Linked DNA regions of Homo sapiens: regions 1, 2, 3, 4, 5 and 7 are each linked to region 6. Evidence: promoter capture Hi-C in 16 types of primary human blood cells and fetal thymus (Javierre and others, 2016). All regions are on one chromosome and are shown on one strand. Each heading gives the region's core, a stretch centred on a gene start or on the middle of the fragment in contact. The rest is flanking DNA. Distances are from core to core; before and after follow the strand shown.

The links. The method cuts DNA at HindIII sites, captures the fragments that hold promoters and counts their contacts. A CHiCAGO score of 5 or more calls a contact.
Region 1: a contact is called between a fragment that was not itself captured here and the fragment with the promoter of BLACE in region 6, in 2 of 17 cell types (neutrophils and activated CD4 T cells). The highest score is 5.9, in neutrophils.
Region 2: a contact is called between a fragment that was not itself captured here and the fragment with the promoter of BLACE in region 6, in 2 of 17 cell types (neutrophils and M0 macrophages). The highest score is 5.5, in neutrophils.
Region 3: a contact is called between a fragment that was not itself captured here and the fragment with the promoter of BLACE in region 6, in 1 of 17 cell types (neutrophils). The highest score is 5.5, in neutrophils.
Region 4: a fragment that was not itself captured here is called in contact with the fragment with the promoter of BLACE in region 6 in 6 of 17 cell types (naive CD4 T cells, total CD8 T cells, activated CD4 T cells and 3 more); the score reaches 6.9 in naive CD4 T cells.
Region 5: a fragment that was not itself captured here is called in contact with the fragment with the promoter of BLACE in region 6 in 8 of 17 cell types (total B cells, activated CD4 T cells, megakaryocytes and 5 more); the score reaches 8.1 in total B cells.
Region 7: a fragment that was not itself captured here is called in contact with the fragment with the promoter of BLACE in region 6 in 6 of 17 cell types (fetal thymus, M0 macrophages, total B cells and 3 more); the score reaches 8.1 in fetal thymus.

What each region holds. Positions count from the first base shown.
Region 1 is chr7:155,034,433-155,037,476 of GRCh38, forward strand. No RefSeq gene overlaps it. Among named protein-coding and RNA genes, the nearest start is that of PAXIP1-DT, 33 kb to the left of the region's middle. The HindIII fragment of the contact is 890 bases long and covers 1,137-2,026 here.
Region 2 is chr7:155,709,939-155,713,201 of GRCh38, forward strand. It overlaps RBM33 (RNA binding motif protein 33), which reads left to right. Exons shown (of 18, transcript NM_053043.3): 8 at 1,265-1,517. Among named protein-coding and RNA genes, the nearest start is that of RBM33, 67 kb to the left of the region's middle. The HindIII fragment of the contact is 1,306 bases long and covers 1,082-2,387 here.
Region 3 is chr7:155,054,295-155,057,526 of GRCh38, forward strand. No RefSeq gene overlaps it. Among named protein-coding and RNA genes, the nearest start is that of HTR5A, 14 kb to the right of the region's middle. The HindIII fragment of the contact is 8,811 bases long and covers 1-3,232 here.
Region 4 is chr7:155,088,582-155,091,467 of GRCh38, forward strand. No RefSeq gene overlaps it. Among named protein-coding and RNA genes, the nearest start is that of HTR5A-AS1, 18 kb to the left of the region's middle. The HindIII fragment of the contact is 5,653 bases long and covers 1-2,886 here.
Region 5 is chr7:155,015,685-155,018,751 of GRCh38, forward strand. No RefSeq gene overlaps it. Among named protein-coding and RNA genes, the nearest start is that of PAXIP1-DT, 14 kb to the left of the region's middle. The HindIII fragment of the contact is 2,868 bases long and covers 47-2,914 here.
Region 6 is chr7:155,365,994-155,369,373 of GRCh38, forward strand. BLACE (B cell acute lymphoblastic leukemia expressed) reads right to left here and starts at 1,940. Exons shown (of 6, transcript NR_103545.1): 1 at 1,816-1,940. All of the region lies in intron 2 of LOC105375593 (a long non-coding RNA gene), which reads left to right. The HindIII fragment of the contact is 7,901 bases long and covers 1-3,380 here.
Region 7 is chr7:155,737,270-155,740,287 of GRCh38, forward strand. It overlaps RBM33 (RNA binding motif protein 33), which reads left to right. Exons shown (of 18, transcript NM_053043.3): 10 at 261-393; 11 at 791-1,134; 12 at 2,446-2,757. Among named protein-coding and RNA genes, the nearest start is that of SHH, 74 kb to the right of the region's middle. The HindIII fragment of the contact is 3,853 bases long and covers 1-3,018 here.

The DNA of each region.
Region 1 (3,044 bases), core at 332-2,831, 330 kb before region 6:
ACTTTCCAATCTTCTCATTTGGTGCTATTCCTACTTGTTAATATTGGAGACTTGTACTGTATCTATATGCAAAGGCTAGAATTTAAAAATCATGCAACTGCCCAGTGGGTTCATCCTGTCCACTGCCTAGATAAAGCCAATTTATCAAGACAGGGGAATTGCAATCGAGAAAAAGTTTAATACACGTAGAGCTGTTTAAAATGCAGACTGGGCCAGCCACCCTCCCTGTCCGGGAGGGAGGTGGGGGGCAGCCCCCGCCCGGCCAGCCTCCCCGTCCGGGAGGGAGGTGGGGGGTGCCTCTGCCCGGCCGCCCCTTCTGGGAAGTGAGGAGCCCCTCTGCCCGGCCGCCACCCCGTCTGGGAGGTGTACCCAACAGCTCATTTAGAATGGGCCACGATGACGATGGCAGTTTTGTCGAATAGAAAAGGGGGAAATGTGGGGAAAAGATAGAGAAATCAGATTGTTGCTGTGTCTGTGTAGAAAGAAGTAGACATAGGAGACTCCATTTTGTTCTGTACTAAGAAAAATTCTTCTGCCTTGGGATGCTGTTGATCTATGACCTTACCCCCAACCCGGTGCTCTCTGAAACATGTGCTGTGTCCACTCAGGGTTAAATGGATTAAGGGCGGTGCAAGATGTGCTTTGTTAAACAGATGCTTGAAGGCAGCATGCTCGTTAAGAGTCATCACCACTCCCTAATCTCAAGTACCCAGGGACACAAACACTGCGGTAGGCCGCAGGGTCCTCTGCCTAGGAAAACCAGAGACCTTTGTTCACTTGTTTATCTGCTGACCTTCCCTCCACTATTGTCCTATGACCCTGCCAAATCCCCCTATGCGAGAATCACCCAAGAATGATCAATAAAAAATAAAAATAAATAAAAATAAAATAAAATAAAATAAAATGAAGACTGGGGTTTTATTATTACTCAGATCAGCCTCCCTGAAAATCTAGATGCTAGGGTTTTTCAAGGATAGTTTGGTGGGCAGGGGGCTGGGGTTAGGGGCAATGCTGATTGTTTGGGGTTGCAATCCTAGAGGTGTGGAAAATGGCCGTTCTGTGCCGGCTGCTTCTGGGTGGGGTCCACAGAGAAGTCGCTGGACCGGGTGGGACCATCTGGTCTTCAGAAATGCAAAAGCTTGAAAAGATATCTCAAAAGGCAAATCTTAGGTTCTACAGTAGTGACGTTATTTACAGGAGTAGTTGGAGAAGTTACAAATCTTGTGACCTCTGGAACAATGGCTGGTAATTGGTTAATTATGTCTACATCTTAGCAGAATTCAGGCCCCTCTCACACTGCTAACCTGGTGGCTTTTCATTAGTTTTACAAAGGTGGTTTAGTTTTGGGAATGGCTATTAGCATTTAAACCATAACTCAATTTCTCCCAAAGCTAGCTTGGCCTAAGCTCAGGAATGACCAAGGGCAGTTTGGAGGTTAAAGGCAAGATGGAGTTGGTTAGATCAGATCTTTTTCACTGTCATAATTTTCTCACTGTTACGAATTTTGCAGAGGCAGTTTAAATTTCTTCTTCTTCTTCTTCTTCTTCTTCTTCTTCTTCTTCTTCTTCTTCTTCTTCTTCTTCTTCTTCTTCTTCCTCTTCCTCTTCTTCTTCTTCCTCTTCCTCTTCTTCTTATTTTTGAGATGGAGTCTTGCTCTGTTCCCCAGGCTGGAGTGCAATGGTGGGATCTTGGCTCACTGAAACCTCCGCCTCTCGGATTCAACCGATTCTTCTGCCTCAGCCTCCTGAGTAGCTGGGATTATAGGTGCGCACTACCACGCCGGCTAATTTTTGTATTTTTTGTAGAGATGGGGTTTCACCATGTTGGCCAGGCTGGTCTCAAACTCCTGACCTCAGGTGATCTGCCCGCCTTGGGCTCCCAAAGTGCTGGGATTACAGACATAAGCCAACGCATCTGGCCTTCAATTTCTTGACACTGATAATGTTTCTTAATCAATTGTCTGCTTGTTTTCAGGTGATGGCTTTGTAATCCCTACTTTGGATTTTTTAAACCAATGTTTTATTAAAGCTTAATGAGTTCTACAAGATGTACAATAAAGATCAGCAATCTACCCTATCTGAAAGACAATCTGTAAAAAACAAAACAAAACAGAAAACAACAACAACAAAAAACCCCAAAAAGCTCCAGTAATTATTTATTTTGGCATTTACTTGTAAATACCAAAATTCATACCAGTGAGAATATTATAACAGTAAAAAACATCTGATTTAACCAACTCCATCTTGCTTTTTTTTTTTTTTTTTTTTTTGAGATGGAGTCTCGCTCTGCCACCAGGCTGGAATGCAGTGGCACGATCTTGGCTCACTGCAACCTCCGCCTCCCAGGTTCAAGTGATTCTCCTGCCTCAGCCTCCCAAGTAGCTGGGATTACAGGCGCCTTCCACCACGCCCAGCTAATTTTTGTATTTTTAGTAGAGATGGGGTTTCACTATATTGGCCATGTTGGCCAGGCTGGTCTCAAACTCCTGACTTCAGGTTATCTGCCTGCCTCAACCTCACGAAGTGCTGGAATTATGGGCGTGAGCCATCATGCCAGGCCATATATATATTTACCCAGCTCCTATTCAAGATGGAGTTGCTCTGATTCAAACGTCTCTGACACCACCTTGGCCTCTCAAAGTGCTCGGATTACAGGCATGAGCCACCACATCCAGCCTACTTGTATATTTTTAAATAGAATGCTTATGCTGTTGTTTCTCAATTTTTCACTTTTATTATTGACTCCTAACTATGGAAAATGAAGACAGATTATACCTCCCTCACTCCACCCCCCATTCACTTCTCAATATAGCTATATAATAAATATTCAGTGTTTTATTATTAAAGCTGTGTAAAGATTATTATTCATAGCTGGGTCACAATATATACTGGGATTATATTCCAATCCACTTCTCTTTTTTTTTTTTGAGATGGAGTTTCCCTCTTGTCACCCAGGCTGGAGTGCAATGGCGTGATCTTGGCTCACTGCAACCTCCGCCTCCCAGGTTCAAGTAATTCTCCTGCCTCAGCCTTCCAAGTAGCTGG
Region 2 (3,263 bases), core at 485-2,984, 340 kb after region 6:
TCTTGCTCTTTGTCAGACTATGGCTTTTCCATTGATTCATCTCTCACCATTCCCTATTAGATGGTCTCCTTCCGTCTTCTTTACCCTCGTTCATCTCACACTGCTGTGAATGATCATTTTCCTACCAAAGAGATCATTCGTGATCCCTTATTATACGTGTTGTCTCTGTGGCATAGTAATGGATCATTTACTTGGAATTTAGAAGCCCTCCGTAATTTGGCATCATCTCAGGGAAAATGCTTGTTAAATTAGACAACTGAATAAGTAGTGGTCTACTGCTAATTAGCTGTGTCGTCAGTTTGGTTAGTGATTAAAAGCAAAACCTGTGGAATCAGATGGCCTGAATTCCAGTTCCGGCTTTTCTCCTTTCCAGCTACTTGATCTTGTAAAAGGAGGTCAGTAAATAGGACCTAGTTTATAGGATTGTGGGGAGCTAGGTCAGCTGACTTTCTCTACTGACCGTATAGTAGGAACTTAAAATGTGGGGAAGATTTAGTCCACGGCAGCTGTTGCAGTTGTTGATTTCTTCCTCTCTAGTGACTGTTTGATAAAATAACCACCCTCGAATTGAGATCTCTGATCACTTTGAGTGTGTAATTTTCTTACCTTCTTTCCTGCCTTCTTCCCTGGTCTCCTGATTTTACTAAGCAGGTGGGTCTGTGCTGCTTCTGCTTTTTTCTGGGTATCTGTCCCTCACTCTGCCTTGCACCTCTCTCTTCTTCATCACCGAGTTCAGGTGTCACCCTCTCAGAGAAGCTCCCTCCCAGCCTCTCCTGGAGGCTCTTTGTGGCCCTGTCCTGTTCTCAGGCCTCAGTTCTGGAGCAGGGTAACTGGTGCACATCTCCTGCCTTGCTTACCAGAGTTCCTGGAGGGGGATGCAAGGCTGCTACAGGGAGGGCTGTGGCAGCTGCTCTTCTGTCCCTGGCACAGGGCTTTGCTCAGTGTGGGCAGTTCAATTCCCTGAACTGAATTTTTTTTTTTTTTTTCAAAATTCACACTGGGTGCTTTGGGGCTGTTTTCCCTCTTGCGTGGGGATTGACTCAATTGTGAGACTGTAGCCCTCATTGTGAAGAAGTAGAGAAGCTTCTTTATCCTGCTGTTTTGATACAAGTTGTTACTACAGACTTCTTACATTGTAACTTAAAAAATGCAATCAGTGTAAATTTGTAACACATCAGCATTCTTTTAAATGTTGATTTCGGTGAACTTTTGTTTTTTTTTTTGTGATTTGTAGACTCATTCTCCAAGGTTAATTCCTCCACAGCCCCAGGCTCCCCCTCCACCGCCACCGCCGCCTCAGCAGCAGCCGATCAGAAGCCTGTTCCAGCCGCAGCCGCTGCAGCCGCTGCTTCCGGTGCAGCACCCGCACCACCCATCCCCGCCTCAGGGAATGCACATGCCTCCCCAGCTAGAGACCCCAAGGATGATGATGACCCCGCCACCCGTGACTCCACAGCAGCCCAAGAACATACACATCAACCCGCACTTCAAAGGGACGGTGGTCACGCCTGTTCAAGGTCTGTGTTTCCTTTTACTATTGTAAAGCATAGATGGCCCCAGCTTCCAATGGTTTGACTTAGGATTTTTCCACTGACGCGTTTTTGACTTCATGAGTGTGTGAAAGCAGTATGCGTTCAGAAGAAATCATCGTTCGAATGTTGAGATTTGATCTCTCCTGGGGTAGCAACATGCATCCCAAAACTCCCTCGAAGCTGGGCAGGGGGAGCTGCGGTTCCCAGCCCCGATGATTTTGCCAACTGTGCAATGATGTGAGTGTTCTGAGCTGAAGGTAGGTGAGGCTAAGCTATGATGTTTCATTGGTTGGGCATATTAAATGCATTTTGACTAAGGGTCTTTTCCACTAACGATAGCCTTATTGGGATGTAACCCCATCCTATGTTGAGGAGCATCTGTTATGTTATAGATTACTGTGCATCTGAAGGCATTTATTAGTTTATTGCACTGAAGCCGTCTCTGCGGCAAAATAGTTTTCACATTCAAATTTGTAAGATTGAGTTTTCCTTGGCTCTTCCCCATTCATTTAGATTTTAGTTTGATGGGTCAAGTATATTTCTTTAAAAATGTGTATCTCTTATTGTATAATTGAGTGGAAAGTGCTGAGAGTACAGTCTGAATGCAAAGAATACACTAGAGACCGCTATTGGAATGCCTGAACTGTGACACTTTGTAAGTCTCCCGGTGAGGATGTTTGCAGTGGTGAGTGTCCCTCTTTGGTTCCAGGCAGCATGCCCCCCTTCAATTCCAGTGTCAGCTGGTGGAGAGGGGACACACCATCTTTTAGTTGTTGTAATCAAATAAATACAGATCTGATTATTACTGAAACATGTTCCTTAAGCTAGGAAACGGTTTTTGAGCAGTTTATACGAAGCTTTAACTTCATGTACCTGTGAACACACACATTTATTGAGCTACTACTCTATTTTTGGCATTTGAGTTATATTGACGAACAAACCAGACAAAGCTTTCTTCAACCATGATATTACTTTCTATCAGACAGTCTTATTATTGTTTATTAGCAGTAAACATAAGTATTTTATGTGGCATGTTAGAAGATGAAAATGCAGTGAGAAATTGAGCAGGATGCGGGGAAGGGATGGGTTGTATCTTAAATGGGGTGATCAGGGTGAACTTCACTGAGCAGGAAAGAGTTGAGGGATATCTGTAAGTTAGCAATGTGGCTGTTCAGGGAAGAAGATTGCAGGCAGAGTGATCAGCAAGTATAAGGGGGCTTCCTCCAGGAGAGACCCTGCCTTGTGTGTTTGAGTAGCCAAAAGGAGACCAGCGTGACTTTTGTGGAGTGATCAAAGCAGAGAAGAAATGCAGAACCTGGGTACCGTGGGGCCGTGGGGCCATCCAGCCATTCTCAGGACTTTGGCAGGGAGTGAAATGGGCAGGGATTAGAGGGGTTTGAGCAGAGGAATGACGTGACCTTGTGTATGTTTTAGAAGATTCCTCTTGCTGCCGTGTTGAGAGGAGACTGTCGGGTGGCAAGGGTGGAAGCTGGTGTCTAGCTAGGAGGTGACAGATGATCCTGGTGCAAACCAGTGTGGTAGCAGGGAGAGTGCAGAGAGCTCAGAGCTGGATGAAGTAGGAAGATGGGGCCGATGGGATTTGCTGATGGATTGGATGAGTGTGAGAGGGAGAGAGGAGGTAAGAGTGATGCCCAGGTGACCAGAGCATTTAGAGGGCTGGTCTGGTTGCCATCACCTGAGGTGGGGAGATCAAAAGTTCTGTTTTGGGTG
Region 3 (3,232 bases), core at 457-2,956, 310 kb before region 6:
GGGTATTAAGCCCAGTATCCATTAGCTCTTCTTCCTCATACTCTCCCTCCTCCCACGCCCTACCCTCTGACAGGCTCCAGTGTGAGTTGTTCCCCCCATGGGTCTGTGTGTTCTCATTACTCAGAATCGGTGATGTGTCTTGGTAGTACTGAGTCTAGTCTTAGGACAATGCTGTCTTCTGGGCTGTGGAAGGAGAGAATTTTGCCCAGATTCGTGGTCATGTCACATGGAGCTTTGTCCCCATCAGGACTGTTTCTGTTCACTTTCCCAGGGGCACAGCGTGTGTGTTATATATGCCTGAACCTTGTTCAAGGGAGAAGATGATAAGAATTAATGAGAACAAGTCTCCATGGACTACATGACCCTGTTCATTTGAATCTTTTATCTAAAAAGTTTTCATGTGTTGACACCAAATATATTAAAGTATATTTTAATTAAAAAATGTTTTTGAAGGAAGAGATATGGAAAAGAGAATTACTAAGTAAAGAACAGAATGGGTCCTAGATATAATCACAATATCTGCGCTTAGAAGAACCAGAGGCTTTCTGTCCACTGGAGCCCAGGGCCAAATGTCACTTCCTAATGTCTGTAGTCTTTCACAAACCAGCAACTTTTCCAAAAATTAAGAGAACAAATATGAAAATAGGTTATGAGTCTTGCCCCTGAGTATGTGTCATCTGAAGGGAACCATATGTGATGGTGATGAGTATGTGAAATTGTGTTATGCCAGTCGATTTAGTTTTATGTGTGTTTGAAATTTTCCAAAATAGATAAGTAAAAAAAAAAAATCAGAAATGCATTGTTAACAGAAACATCCTTGAAAAGTTTTTTTTTTTTTTTTTTTTTTTTTTTTGAGATAGGGTCCTGCTCTGTTACCCAGGCTGGAGTGCAGCGGTGTGATCTTGGCTCACCACAACCTCTGCCTCCCAGGGTCAATTGATCCTCCCACCTCTGCCTGCTGAGTAGCTGGGTCTACAGACACGCATCACCATGCCTAGTTAATTTTTGTGTGTGTATATTTTTTGTAGATACAAGGTTTCAGCACATTGCCTAGGCTAGTTTTGAACTCCTGGGCTCAAGCATTCCACTGGTCTCCGCCCAAAGTGTGAGATTACAAGTGTGAGCCACTGCACCCAGCCCATCCTTGGAATAGTTGGAAGCTGTTGTATGTATGATAGAGAGGATGAAAGAAAAACGACACATTGAATTGGGCTCCTGCTTTGAATGGAAATAATGGGGTCCCAGAGAGGAAACAACTGTCAGAGACATGGTTGACAAGATTTATGTAATAGGCTCTAGGGAAAGAGAAAATCAAAGCATTTTGATCTCAGGGTCCCAGGAGGTAGCTTGTCAATTATGGAACCTTAGGAATAGAATGTATGGGCAATCGAATAAGGCGTTAACTTTAATAATAATAATAAAAACGTTTCTGGGTCTGGTGGGCAGAAATTAGACTCAAGTTACCACAGCTGAGTTTTTGTTTTTGATGGAGTTTTGCCCTTCTCGCCCAGGCTGGAGTGCAATGGCATGATCTCGACTCAGTGCAACCTCTACCTCCCCCATTCAAGAGATTCTCCTGCCTCAGCCTCCCAAGTAGCTGGGACTACAGGAGCACGCCACCATGCCTGGCTAATTTTTGTATTTTTGATAGAGACGGGGTTTCACCATGTTGGCCAGGCTGGTCTCAAACTCCTGATCTCAGGTGATCCACCCACCTCAGCCTCCCAAAGTGCTGGGATTACAGGCGTGAGCCACTGTGCCCAGCCTACAGCTGAGTTTCAAAGCCCCTCACTGGACCTGCTCCCAGTCCTGGGGCCTCTTGATTGAAGAGAAGGCTGGGCCCCTTTGGGGAAATTCCCCACAACGTGGCCATACCTGCAAACTACACACCTCCCTTCAAATGTCTGCAGGGAGACCCCTGGCCCCTTACCAGTGTGCAAGGGAAATGCACACCCCTGTAGGACATTTTAGGCACTGGCTGTGGGGAAGTTCCCGTTCTCTGGGGTCCGGTTCTGACCTCAGCTGCGGCTCAGCAGGACAGTTTCATGCACCCCACAGCATGGCATTCCGCACTCTCTCCACCCTCCTGCCTCAGGGCTTGCTTCGCAACCATGAGGACTGAGGACTTAGCCTGCACTCAGAAGCCTCCCAGAAGCAGGGTGGTGAGGCTGACGCCTTGGGAGCAAACATCAACCAATGGGGTGTAGGAGTCAGCGGGTGAGTGTTGTGGCCTCTTGCCCTTCAGGGATAGACTTTAGGGGGAGTACACCCTGCTTGTCCACAGTGGACACCAGCTGTCCAGTGTCTTTTTTTTTTTTTTTTTTTTTTTTTTTTGAGATGGAGTCTCACTCTGTCACCCAGGCTGGAGTGCAGTGACATGATCTTGGCTCACTGCAACCTCCACCTCCCAGGTTCAAGTGATTCTCCTGCATCAGCCTCCCAAGTAGCTGAGACTATAGGCACCTGCCACCACACCTAGCTAATTTTTGTATGTTTAGTAGAGACAGGGTTTCACTATGTTGACCAGGCTGGTCTCGAACTCCTGACCTTGTGATCCACCCGCCTCGGCCTCCCAAAGTGCTGGGATTACAAGCATGAGCCACTGCACTTGGCCTTCTCCAGTGTCTTTTTATTGGCTCCTCCTTCCTCACACCCACTCTCTCTGCTTCCCTGCTCCTGCTTTCAGAGATCACCTCCCAAACAAACTACTTATACCCAATGTTCTGTCTCATAATTTGCTTGGGGCAGGGTGACTCAATTAAGAAACTGTATCTGCACTAACGTGGATCTCTGGGGCCTCCTCCTACCACCATGTCTACCAGTCAGAGTGGGGATTATGGAGGTTGGAATCTTGGCCCAAGTCCATCCTGCTACAGGCCCAGTGAGCACACGGACTCAAATCGTGGCTGCTCCCGTCCCGTTACTGACTGCTTAGAATAAAGATGCTTAATCAGCTGCAGAATATCCACATCAGCTCACTCATCTGCGAAGTAAAAATTGGTGTGGAAAAGAAGGGCCAAGTAAAATCCTTGAAACTGCTCCCTGTAGCACCCCTGTAATCCCGAGGGAATTATGGAGATTAGAATGCAAGGGGTCAGTTCCTGAGGAATCACTATTTAAATTATCTGCTTGGCTGGCATCAGAGATGAGTGTCTTGGGTAATCAATGTGGATTATGGTGATTGCAGCTGTGGTCCCAGATGCCATATTTCTGGTGGAGTAAATAAACATAA
Region 4 (2,886 bases), core at 231-2,730, 280 kb before region 6:
ACTGGTGCAAATAAGGGGAGGGTCTGAGATTAATGTACAGTCGCAGGACGCATAACCATGAGGATGTGCTGAGAAATGCATCATTAGGCAATTTCGACATTATGCAAACGTCGCAGAGTGCACTTACACACATCTAGAGGGGACAGCCCGCTATACATGTGAGGCTGTTCGGTGTAGCCTCGTGGTCCTAGGCTGCACACCTGTGAAGGCTGTTACTGTACTGAATGCTGTAGGCAGCTGTAACACGATGGTAATGGGTTTGTGTATCTAAACATATCTAAATGTAGAAAAGGTACAGTAAAAAATGATTGAAAATGGTGCACCTGTACAGGGTACTTGCCATGAATGGAGCTTGCTGCAGTGGAAGTAGCTCCAGGTGAATCAGCGAGGGAGTGAGTGGAGAGTGAATGTGAGGACCTAGGACACCTAGGACATTCCTGTACACTACCGCAGACTTTGTAAACAATGTTCACTAAGGCTACACTCAACTTCTTCTTTCTTTTTTTTTTTTTGAGACAGAGTCTCGCTCTGTTGCCCAGGCTGGAGTGCAATGGCGTGACCTCGGCTCACTGCAACCTCCACCACCTCCCAGGTTCAAGCAATTCTCCCACCTCAGCCTGCCGAGTAGCTGAGACTACAGGCGCCCGCCACCATGTCCGGATTTTTTTTTGTATTTTTAGTAGACACAGGGTTTCACCGTGTTAGCCAGGATGGTCTCGATCTCCTGACCTTGTGATCCGCCCACCTCGGCCTCTCTAAGTGCTGGGATTACAGGCATGAGCCACCGTGCCCTGCTGAAGGGAAGCAATTTTTAAATGACCAATGTTAATTACCCTAGTAATTAGCTAGGAATGGGTGGGAGCTGGAATTAACTAGAATTAACATTCCTAGTAATTAACTAGGAACGGGTGGGAGCTGGAATTAACTACAATTAACATTCCCAGTAATTAACTAGGAATGGGTGGGAGCTAGAATTTGGGACAGAATTTGACATTTGGCAAGCCCCATAGTTGTGAAGATTTAAATAAAAAAACCTCTCTTGGTTCTTGTGCTTAGAACCTTAAATGGAAATACTTCAAATTAAAATAGTAAGAATTTTGATAACAAACAGATGTCTTCCTGGGGGTCATCTTGGGTATTTAGAATGACATCTACATGTGGTAAGAATAGGCTGAGGGGGAATGGGGCTTTGCATGAGAAAAAAAGGATGAGGAGGGGATATTGAGCTGAGGAGAAACACGGCAGCAAATTGAAGTGAGTCTGTAACTTGCCAGCCATTGAGTGCTTCATCTTGGAAGCGAGTCTTCCAGCCTCAGTCAAACCTTCAGATGACTGCAGCCCCAGCTGGTGTCTTGACTACACTTGACTACATGGGAGATCCCGAGTCAGAACCCAACTAAGCCACTCCCAAATTTCTAAATCACAGAAACTATCAGATAACGAAGGATTATTGCTGTTTTAATGTAAAACAAACTAAATATGAAACTCGAATCTAATACTAAAAAGAGAGGATAAATTCAATACAAAAGAAAGGATATAGAATTCCATTTTGCTATATTCTGTTTCATGCAAACTAGATATGGATTTATATAAACTGGGTTAATTTAATTTAATACACAAATATAATTCATCAAATTATAAGGCATCACTTTAGTACTAAGGTAGCAGATTTAAAATACACTTCTGTTTATAAAAACTCAATTCATGTATCTGGAGAGCACTTGGAACTCTATTTGCTGAGAGTTTTCGCCAACATGTGTGATGGGTGGGAGGGCAAGGCAGGAGGAACTCAGCCCTTGGCTGCCTACCCTGGATCAGGCTGCTGCCTGGAGCACAGACACACAAAGCATTAGTGGCCACATGGAAACAGACTGCTTCTCTCATTCCTTCCTGCTCCACTCTTTGGTGCCACTCCTGCTCCCCTATTTGGTGCCACTAACCTGGGTGTCTCTCCCTGGTTAAAAGGAAGAGAGTGTGTGTGTGTGTATACATGCACACACACACACATACACATATACACATATGTATGTATGCATACAGAAGATTTCCATTAATCAAACATTCAGTAGTAATAACAAAGCTGCAAACAAATCAGCCAGGGGTCATCATCAAAATGAGGCCTAAGTGGCACAGCCCCGCATGTCTCAGCCTATGGCATAACAGGAGCTTTCCTGACTCAGGAGTGGAAGGTACAACTCATTACAAGGCCTTTACACATCACCTAATGTGAAGGGCCCTGCCCACAGCTGCTGAGACCCCGGAAGCCACCTAATTTGAGGCTTCCTCCCCCACAACTCACTGAGTGAGTCATATTTTGTGCACAGAGCTATCACCTCAGGCTGTATCCCAAAGGTTTCTGTTAGCAGGAAGGAAGAATATCGAGCCCTCTGTGTGCAGGTGAACAAACTTTGAGACTGTGGCATTTACAGCAACAGCTGCTCCAGTGATCCCATCTCCACCTTCAGCTCAGTTGGAAACTGAACTTCGGGGGTTAGAAGGGAAGAGAGTCGGTGCCCCATTGGTTTGTTACCTTCCCAACATGCGACAAGTCAGTTTCCACGTAGATGAAAGAGGAGGTGGTCTGATTTACAAAGACAGATGAGCCCCCAGCTTCCTGTTTGGCCACCGACGGGCTCACTGTCACCTCACCGAGGGTGCCTCTGTCCTGTCCCAGCACCGTTAAGGTGCAATGGGTCCTTGGTCTAGGAGTGAAGACGATGGGATGAAGATGGGGGGATGGAGTTAAATAAAAGGGCCTGACTCTCACTTCGCTTTCTTCATCCTTCCTGCTCCTTAAGATAGTTGGATGTTTTTCCCACTTGGTAAAGTTATTCCTACAATTGGCCTACAGGAAAAGGAAGACAGGCAAAACAAACAAAGCGTAAA
Region 5 (3,067 bases), core at 231-2,730, 350 kb before region 6:
CGCGGGAGACATGTACAAAGAAGCAGATTGGAGACCTTCGGGGAAAAGCTTTATATGAAGAAATGACTGTCCATATTTCTCATAAATTAGAATCCTACTATTTTCAATTCCTATCAAAAAAATTTACAGGCTGAAGTTGAGACAGTAAAAACTGGTATTCCATTTGATTCCATTTGGAAAATATCTGCCCTTATTCTGTTTATTTTATTTTATTTTTATTTTATTTTTTGTTTTATTGAGACAAGGTCTCACCCTGTCACTCAGGGTGGAGTGCAGTGCTGCAATCTTGGCTCACTGCAACCTCCGCCTCCCGGGTTCAAGCAATTCTCCTGCCTCAGTCTCCCACGTAGCTGAGAGTACAGACACGTGCCACCACGCCTGGCTAATTTTTGTATTTTTAGTAGAGACGGGGTCTCATCATGTTGGCCAGGCTGGTCTCAAACTCCTGACCTCAAGCGATCTGCCGGCCTCGGCCTCCCAAAGTGCTGGGATTACAGGCGTGAGCCACCGTGCCTGGCCTGCCCCTATTCAGTGTATAATAGCAGGCAAAATAGTGCTGCTAGTTCCACAATATCCAAAAAAGTACTAGCTAGACAATGCTGACTCAATGCTCTGGTTCCAAAATGTCCCATAGTTTCCCACCACTTGTAGACTGAAGTTCAGTCACCTTAGCCTGCCTTTCAGAGAACTCTCTAAGCTGTTGCTTTCCACCATACACCCCACCTTTGTACACCGTAGCCCGAGCACACTAGGCCCATGTCCTCCCACTCTTAGCAGACTAGACTACAGCACTTGACTCTCCAAACACATCCAGAACTTTCCCACCGCAGCCATGGCTGTGTTCCATCACCAGCAACCCTCTGCACTCATGCACCTGCACAAATCGCACCTGCTCTTCCTATGGCCAACCTTAGATGTCCCATTTTATGAAACATCTCTGATGCCTTGAGAAAGAATTTCTTTGGTCTCTTCTACTGTGATTTACATAAATATAAATGAATTATATAACTGGCGGCTCTTTGGCTTGGATCAAGGATGACTAACTCAACCACATGTGAGAGAGTTCATCTCACCCAACATAATGTCTGGTGTGGTGCTGCTGTGAACCATTTTCAGGGTAAGGAGTACAAACAAGGCTGGAGGGAGCCTCAAATGTGAGAGCTTGCCTTCATCCCAATACTTATATTTAAAGTATCAAAAAGACTGTATTCTAAAATACTTTGCCATTGCATCACCACCACCACCCCACTCCCAACCCCTCCAAGACTAAAACAAGTTTTTGTTTTTAAGACAGGGTCTTGCTCTGTTGCCCAGGCTGAAAGTGCAGTGGCGCCATCACAGCTCACTGCAGCCTCGACTTCACAGCACCCAAGGGACCTTCCCACCTCAGTCTCCCAAGTAGATGGGACCACAGGTACACACCACTGGCTACTTTTTACATTTTGTGTAGAAATGGGGTCTCAGACCAGCTACGGTGGCTCATGCCTGTAATCCCAGCACTCTGGGAGGCTGAAGCTGGTGGATCACTTGAGGTCAGGAGTTTGAGACCAGCTTGGCCAACATAGTGAAACCCCGTCTCTACTAAAAATACAAAAATTAGTCAGGCACAGTGGCAGGCGCCTGTAATCCCAGCTACTCCAGGAGGCTGAGGCAGGAGAATCGCTTGAACCCGGGAGGTGAAGGTTGCAGTGGGCCGTGGTGGTGCCACTGCACTCCAGTCTGGGTGACAGAGCAAGACTCTGTCTCAAAACAAAACAAAACAAAACAAACAAAAAAACAAAAAAACTAAAAGGGAAATGGGGTCCACTGGTTGCCCAAGTTGGTCTCGAACTCCTGAGCTCAAGCCATTCTCCTGCCTTGGCCTCCCAAAGTGCTAGGATATCAGGCGTAAGCCACTGCACCTGGCCTAAAACAAGTTTTATTTTCCCTTAACACATATTCTCTTCCATATTTAGTATGAGGCCTGATGTCAAATGGATGATGAGTAAATATTTAAGGAGTGGATGGATGCATTTTGAATGAATTAACATCACTGCCAGGGATTTTTCACCTTTTAGGGCCTCTTTAAAGATAATCATCAGAATACAAATTTAAAACTTATTCTAATAAGGTTTCCTTGTTCTATTTCATTATACTTTACAGCTGGGGAAACACGTTTGGGAAGGTTAGATCAGGGGTCAGCAAACATTTTTCTGTAAAGGCCCAGATAGAAAATATTTTAGGCATTGTGGTTTATACAATCTCTCTTGTGACTTCTCAACTCTGCTATTGCAGTGTGAAAGCAGCCACAGACACTCTGTGTAAAAATGAGCAAGACTGCGTTCCAATAAAACTTTATGTACAAAACCAGGTAGCAGGCCAGAGTTAGCCTTTGGGCCTTGGTTTGCTGACCCTGTGTTAGGTTTTCCAAGGTCACACACTAGCAAGTGGAAGAAACAAAGAAAGACTAAAACCCAACAGGTGTTCACTAACTAATGAGCCTCTTGACCCCCGTACAGCACTCTCCCTGCTTCACTGTGATAACTCTGCGGTCTCAGGAGGTCTGTCTGAATGCTTGACCATCAGGCAAACAAGGGAATTAGGGCTAATTAATTAGTCAAGACTTTGAAATCCACTGAGAAATGGGGCCTCATATTAAGTGCAAACTATCATCCTAAGTAATATATTTGTGACACTTTCATTAAATTTTCTCTCAAATCTTGAAAAATAAGTATCTCCTAGCTGCCAAGATTTTCATCTTAGCGTAATTATGAAGCCTCCCCAAATAATCATTTTCCAGTTGGCGATACTCAGTGGGGCACAATGCCAGCTGTGGAGACTGGATGACGCTGTTTAATTTGAGACTTATTAGCACAGCACAGGTGAAAATGAAGAAAGTCTTAGTGAAATGTGCTCGTCGCATGTTCAATATAAAAGCTTATTGTTTAGTGGAGCTCATGGAATAAAAGAAGAGCAGCAATCTAAAAGCAGGTAATTCAATGTCTATCAAGATAAATATAGGAATTTTAGGGACATTTTCCACAGGTATTAATAGAAACCATTTTTATTAGGAAAAAGGCAGATATTT
Region 6 (3,380 bases), core at 690-3,189:
AGTTTTGTATAAATTATGTTTCATATCTTTTTATTTCAGAAATAATCATTGCTGGAAATGCTGTTAAATTTTTTGGAACTCTTCTTTTTTTTTTTTTTTTTTTTTTTATTGATCATTCTTGGGTGTTTCTTGCAGAAGGGGATTTGGCAGGGTCATAGGACAATAGTGGAGGGAAGGTCAGCAGATAAACAAGTGAACAAAGGTCTCTGGTTTTCCTAGGCAGAGGACCCTGTGGCCTTCCGCAGTGTTTGTGTCCCTGGGTACTTAAGATTAGGGAGTGGTGATGACTCTTAACGAGCATGCTGCCTTCAAGCATCTGTTTAACAAAGCACATCTTGCACCGCCCTTAATCCATTTAACCCTGAGTGGACACAGCACATGTTTCAGAGAGCATGGGGTTGGGGGTAAGGTCATAGATCAACAGGATCCCAAGGCAGAAGAATTTTTCTTAGTACAGAACAAAATGAAAAGTCTCCCATGTCTACTTCTATCCACACAGACCCGGCAACCATCCGATTTCTCAATTTTTTCCCCACCCTTCCCGCCTTTCTATTCCACAAAGCCGCCATTGTCATCATGGCCCATCCCCAATGAGCCGCTGGGCACACCTCCCAGACGGGGTCGTGGCCGGGCAGAGGGGCTCCTCACTTCCCAGTAGGGGCGGCCGGGCAGAAGCGCCCCTCACCTCCCGGACGGGGCGGCTGGCCGGGCGGGGGGCTGACCCCCGCCACCTCCCTCCCGGACGGGGCGGCTGGCCGGGCAGAGGGGCTCCTCACTTCCCAGTAGGGGCGGCCGGGCAGAGGCGCCCCTCACCTCCCGGACGGGGCGGCTGGCCGGGCGGGGGGCTGACCCCCCCACCTCCCTCCCGGACGGGGCGGCTGGCCGGGCAGAGGGGCTCCTCACTTCCCAGTAGGGGCGGCCGGGCAGAGGCGCCCCTCACCTCCCGGACGGGGCGGCTGGCCGGGCGGGGGGCTGACCCCCCCACCTCCCTCCCGGACGGGGCGGCTGGCCGGGCAGAGGGGCTCCTCACTTCCCAGTAGGGGCGGCCGGGCAGAGGCGCCCCTCACCTCCCGGACGGGGCGGCTGGCCGGGCGGGGGGCTGATCCCCCCACCTCCCTCCCGGACGGGGCGGCTGGCCGGGCGGGGGGCTGACCCCCCACCTCCCTCCCGGACGGGGCGGCTGGCCGGGCAGAGGGGCTCCTCACTTCCCAGTAGGGGCGGCCGGGCAGAGGCGCCCCTCACCTCCCGGACGGGGTGGCTGGCCGGGCGGGGGGCTGATCCCCCCACCTCCCTCCCGGACGGGGCGGCTGGCCGGGCGGGGGGCTGACCCCCCACCTCCCTCCCGGACGAGGCGGCTGGCCGGGCAGAGGGGCTCCTCACTTCCCAGTAGGGGCAGCCGGGCAGAGGCGCCCCTCACCTCCCGGACGGGGCGGCTGGCCAGGCGGGGGGCTGATCCCCCCACCTCCCTCCCGGACGGGGCGGCTGGCCGGGCGGGGGGCTGACCCCCCACCTCCCTCCCGGACGGGGCGGCTGGCCGGGCAGAGGAGTCCTCACTTCCCAGTAGGGGCGGCCGGGTAGAGGCGCCCCTCACCTCCCGGACGGGGCGGCTGGCCAGGCGGGGGGCTGATCCCCCCACCTCCCTCCCGGACGGGGCGGCTGGCCGGGCAGGGGGCTGACCCCCCTCCCCCCTCCCGGACTGGGTGGCTGGCCGGGCGGGGGGCTGACCCCCCCACCTCCCTCCTGGACGGGGCGACTGGCCGGGCAGAGGGGCTCCTCACTTCCCAGTAGGGGCGGCCGGGCAGAGGAGCCCCTCACCTCCCGGACGGGGCGGCTGGCCGGGCGGGGGGCTGACCCCCCCCACCTCCCCCCCGGACGGGGTGGCTGCCGGGCGGAGACGCTCCTCACTTCCCAGACGGGGTGGCTGCTGGACGGAGGGGCTCCTCACTTCTCAGACGGGGTGGTTGCCAGGCAGAGGTGCTCCCCACCTCTCAGACGATGGGCGGCCAGGCAGAGACGCTCCTCACTTTCCAGACGGGGTGGCGGCCGGGCAGAGGCTGCAATCTCGGCTCTTTGGGAGGCCAAGGCAGGCGGCTGGGAGGTGTAGGTTGTAGTGAGCCGAGATCACGCCGCTGCACTCCAGCCTGGGCACCATTGAGCACTGAGTGAACGAGACTCCGTCTGCAATCCCAGCACCTCGGAAGGCCGAGGCTGGCGGATCACTCGCGGTTAGGAGCTGGAGACCAGCCCGGCCAACACAGCGAAACCCCGTCTCCACCAAAAAAAAACGAAAACCAGTCAGGCGTGGCGGCGCGTGCCTGCAATCACAGGCACTCGGCAGGCTGAGGCAGGAGAATCAGGCAGGGAGGTTGCAGTGAGCCGAGATCGCAGCAGTACAGTCCAGCTTCGGCTCGGCATCAGAGGGAGACCGTGGAAGGAGACCGTGGGGAGAGGTAGAGGTAGAGGTAGAGGTAGAGGTTAGAGGTTAGAGGTTAGAGGTTAGAGGTAGAGGTAGAGGTAGAGGTAGAGGTAGAGGTAGAGGTAGAGGTAGACGTAGAGGTATCCTTTAATCTTTCTAGGACAGGTACAGTGGCTCATGCCTGTAATCCCAGCACTTTGGGAGGCCGAGGTGGGAGGATCACTGGAGGCAGGCGGATCACTGGAGCCAAGGAGTTCAAGACCAACCAGGGCAACATAGTGAGACCTTGTCTCTACAAGAAGTTTAAAAAATTAGCCAAGCATGGCGGCGCATGCCTGTAGTCCCAGCTACTTGGGAGGATGAAGCTAGAGGATTGCTTGAGCCCAGAAGGCAGAGGCTGCAGTGAGCAGTGATCACACCACTGCACTCCAGCCTGGGCGACAGAGCAAGCTCCTATCTCAAAAAAAAAAAAAAAAACAGATAATCTTTCTAGGACTTGATTTCCCAGGCTCCATAATGGCAATCTGCGCAGGCAGCTTCTGGCTCTGAGTCTTCCTGTTTCTGTGGTGCCACTGCCAGCACAGGGAGGTCATTCTGTATCATGTCACTTGCTTGGTGTTTTACACCCATGGATGATGAAACAGCAACTGCAGCCTGGAGTGCTGGGAGGCAGAGAGAGTCTCGCTTCCCAGGCCATCTGGCTTACTGTGAAGGCCAGAAGCAGCACAGCCTCTCTTGGTCACCAGGGATCAGGACTCAGGTGGAGAGGGTGGGGCAGGGGCTGGCAGTGGAGACAGGTCCACACTGGGAACCAGCTGTGCCAGGCAGTGTGGCCCTGAAGCCCCTAAGGTGTGTCAAGAGGGGTCTTTCAGGAAATGGTTAGAGAGTGCAGGTGTTGTGTTTCTCTCTGACATGTAAACATATGTCTTTCTAGACAGGCAGGTCTCCCTATACCTGCCTTACG
Region 7 (3,018 bases), core at 263-2,762, 370 kb after region 6:
ACAATACACTCTGTGGTGTTCGCATGATGGAATCACCTAAGGATGCGTGTCAGAATGTATCCTGTCATTAAGGATGCATGACTCTGTGTGTGTGTGTGTGTGTGTGTGTGTGTGTGTAGAAAGAGAAAGACAGTGACTGTTAGGAGACACGTTACTTGACATTTTTGAGGAAAACTTGGAACCAGGTCTATATTTCTAAAAATTACATACCATTTTTCTGTCCTTCACCCTGTTTCTCTGTTGTTGTTGTTGTTCTTTAGGGCCCTCCAGAATTTCCACAGCATACACCTGGACCTGTTCCCAACAGTTTCAGCCAGCCCCCACGACTCCCTCTCCAGGACCAGTGGAGAGCCCCACCCCCGCCTCAGGATCGAGACCCTTTCTTCTTAGGAGGTACAGAAAGAGTGAGTGGTGTGGAGTAACAACAGAAGCTGCATTGGGTGATGTGCCCAAACACATTTATTTTGTAAACTGAATTGAACTCCCAGTTGGAGATGTTAGGAATGCCAGGTTTTTGTACCATAGCAGTTCTGCCTGTCATTTCAGGTGCTAAAATTGGACATTGTTGGTATCTGAAATCGGAACATCTCATATAAAAGGGAATTTATGTATAGAAAATGACAAATGAAGCAATCTAGAAATAAGAGGCAAAATCTGGAATTGTTTCCAACATTCATAACCTGTCAACACTTGTGACTTCTGTCCACAGTAGGATAGTGCTTCAGACTGCTTTTCTGAGAAGCACATGGTCTTTTTAACCTGAAGTTAATGATGTTGTGTTACCTTTCAGTTTCAGGTGAACCAAGATTCCCGAGCCATCTTTTTCTGGAACAGCGAAGTCCCCCTCCACCACCACCGCCTCCTACCCTTCTTAACAGTAGCCATCCTGTTCCTACTCAGAGTCCTCTACCATTCACTCAGCCAGGACCAGCATTTAATCAGCAAGGACAGCAGCCAGTGTTCCCAAGAGAGCGGCCCGTACGACCAGCCTTGCAGCCTCCAGGTCCGGTGGGGATTCTGCACTTTAGCCAGCCTGGGTCGGCAACCACACGGCCCTTCATTCCTCCTAGACAGCCGTTCCTGCCAGGCCCAGGACAGCCGTTTCTGCCCACACACACACAGCCCAACCTGCAGGTAATGCATCCTGAGTGAACCTCCAGGGAAAAAATGTGTAGCTTCAAGGCTTTGTGTTCCATAAAGTTTCAGATTTTTATTTGAGCCTACTAATTTGTGGTTATTTAAAGAATAGAGTATTAGTCTCAAATGTACTGTTTGTTAAAGACAACTTTTTTCAACAATGTTACTTATCTCAATACAAGAAAAAAATGGGAAAATGTCATTTTTTGGGAATTGAAAAATGCTACTTATTATAATTGTTTAAAGGGTATACTACTAATAAAATTAGGACATGTTTTGATAATACATTTGCTCATCTGTATAAAATTTCATGAGAGGTTTACCAGTGGAAATACTTTGTCAAATTATATTCCTGCAGTAGACAGTTTTGAAAAGAGTCTTTGCATGGAGGGAAGAAGATGTTGCTGTTCACTGGTTATTTGAAGGCCTTGAGTGCCCTCTGCCGACCGGCTTCTGCTTCATGGGTTTTCACTGGTTATTTGAAGGCCTTGAGTGCCCTCTGCCCATCGGCTTCTGCTTCATGGGTTGACATGCGTCTGTAACATCTTTCTTACCAAGTGTATATTTCTTCTTGTATTGTAGGGTTACTATTAAAATACATAGCGATGGTAAACTTGAATCAACTATTTAAAAATACGTGGAATACGTATCTAAGCCAAAAACGGAAAATGAATATTATCTAGGGTGTTAAAGGAAGATAAAATGTTTTTAAGAATTTTTCTTTTTATTAAAAAAATGCAATTAATACATCCCCATTGCAGAAATTTTCAAGTATATATAAGAAAGGAAATTAAATACTCTCGTTACCTAGAAACAATTCAGGAGCTTTTTTTTTTGTCTTTTTTTAAATGCACATCTTCTCGCCACCTGCTTTTTCCCTCCAGTGTCACATATCATTTGATCTTTTCATGTCAGCGAGTTGGTTTTGATGCCATCGTTTGAGAGTGCTGTATGCGGTTCCCTTTCATGCTGTCTGTGTGGTTGCATGTGTGTATACTGGTTTCAGTACTTTAGTATCATAGTGCTACAGGGAACATGCTTTAGAGTTATGAGTTTGTCTGCATACCTAGTTTTCCTTAGGACAATTCAATCCTAGAATTACTGGATTAAATATAAAATTTAAGGTAATAGCTTCTGGCTTATTACTGCATTTTAGATAGTATTACCTTCATCAGCAAGTCTAAAATGAAGTTTTGGTATCGCTGAAAGTTCCTTTCTTGTGTTGAGGTTTTTTAGGAAATGATTGAAGTGATTATGCCCGGTGTAACCATTTATGAACTGTTGTTTCTCTTTCTTTGGAAATGGAAGGGGCCGTTGCATCCTCCATTGCCCCCTCCGCATCAGCCTCAGCCTCAGCAACCTCAGCAACAGCCCCCGCCACAGCACCAGCCTCCGCACCAGCCCCCGCACCAGCCCCCGCCCCAGCACCAGCCCCCACCCCAGCACCCACCACAGCACCCGCCGCAGCACCAGCACCACCACCACCACCACCACCTGTCCGTCCCGCCCCCTCCTTTGATGCCGATGTCTCAGCCACAGTTCCGGCCTCACGTACAGACCGCTCAGCCTCAGGCCAGCAGCAGCCGGATGCAGTGCCCCCAGCGCCAGGGGCTCCGGCATGTAAGTGTCAAGGGGTGTCTTCCCTGTGTCTTCCTGGGAGGCCTTTTAACTTACAGGACTTGAGGGGCATAATATGTAGGTTAGAATATTTTCCAGTTCTGATTTCTGTTTATAAAATGTGTAGTACATAGTTCTGAAGTGAATCCATGTTTTAAAAAACACTCAGGTGATTTGTTTTCTTGACTACAAGAATTGATAAGATACTCCTTTTGTGTCTCAAAGACTGTGTTAATATTTACTTAAGCATCTTTCTTGTATCTA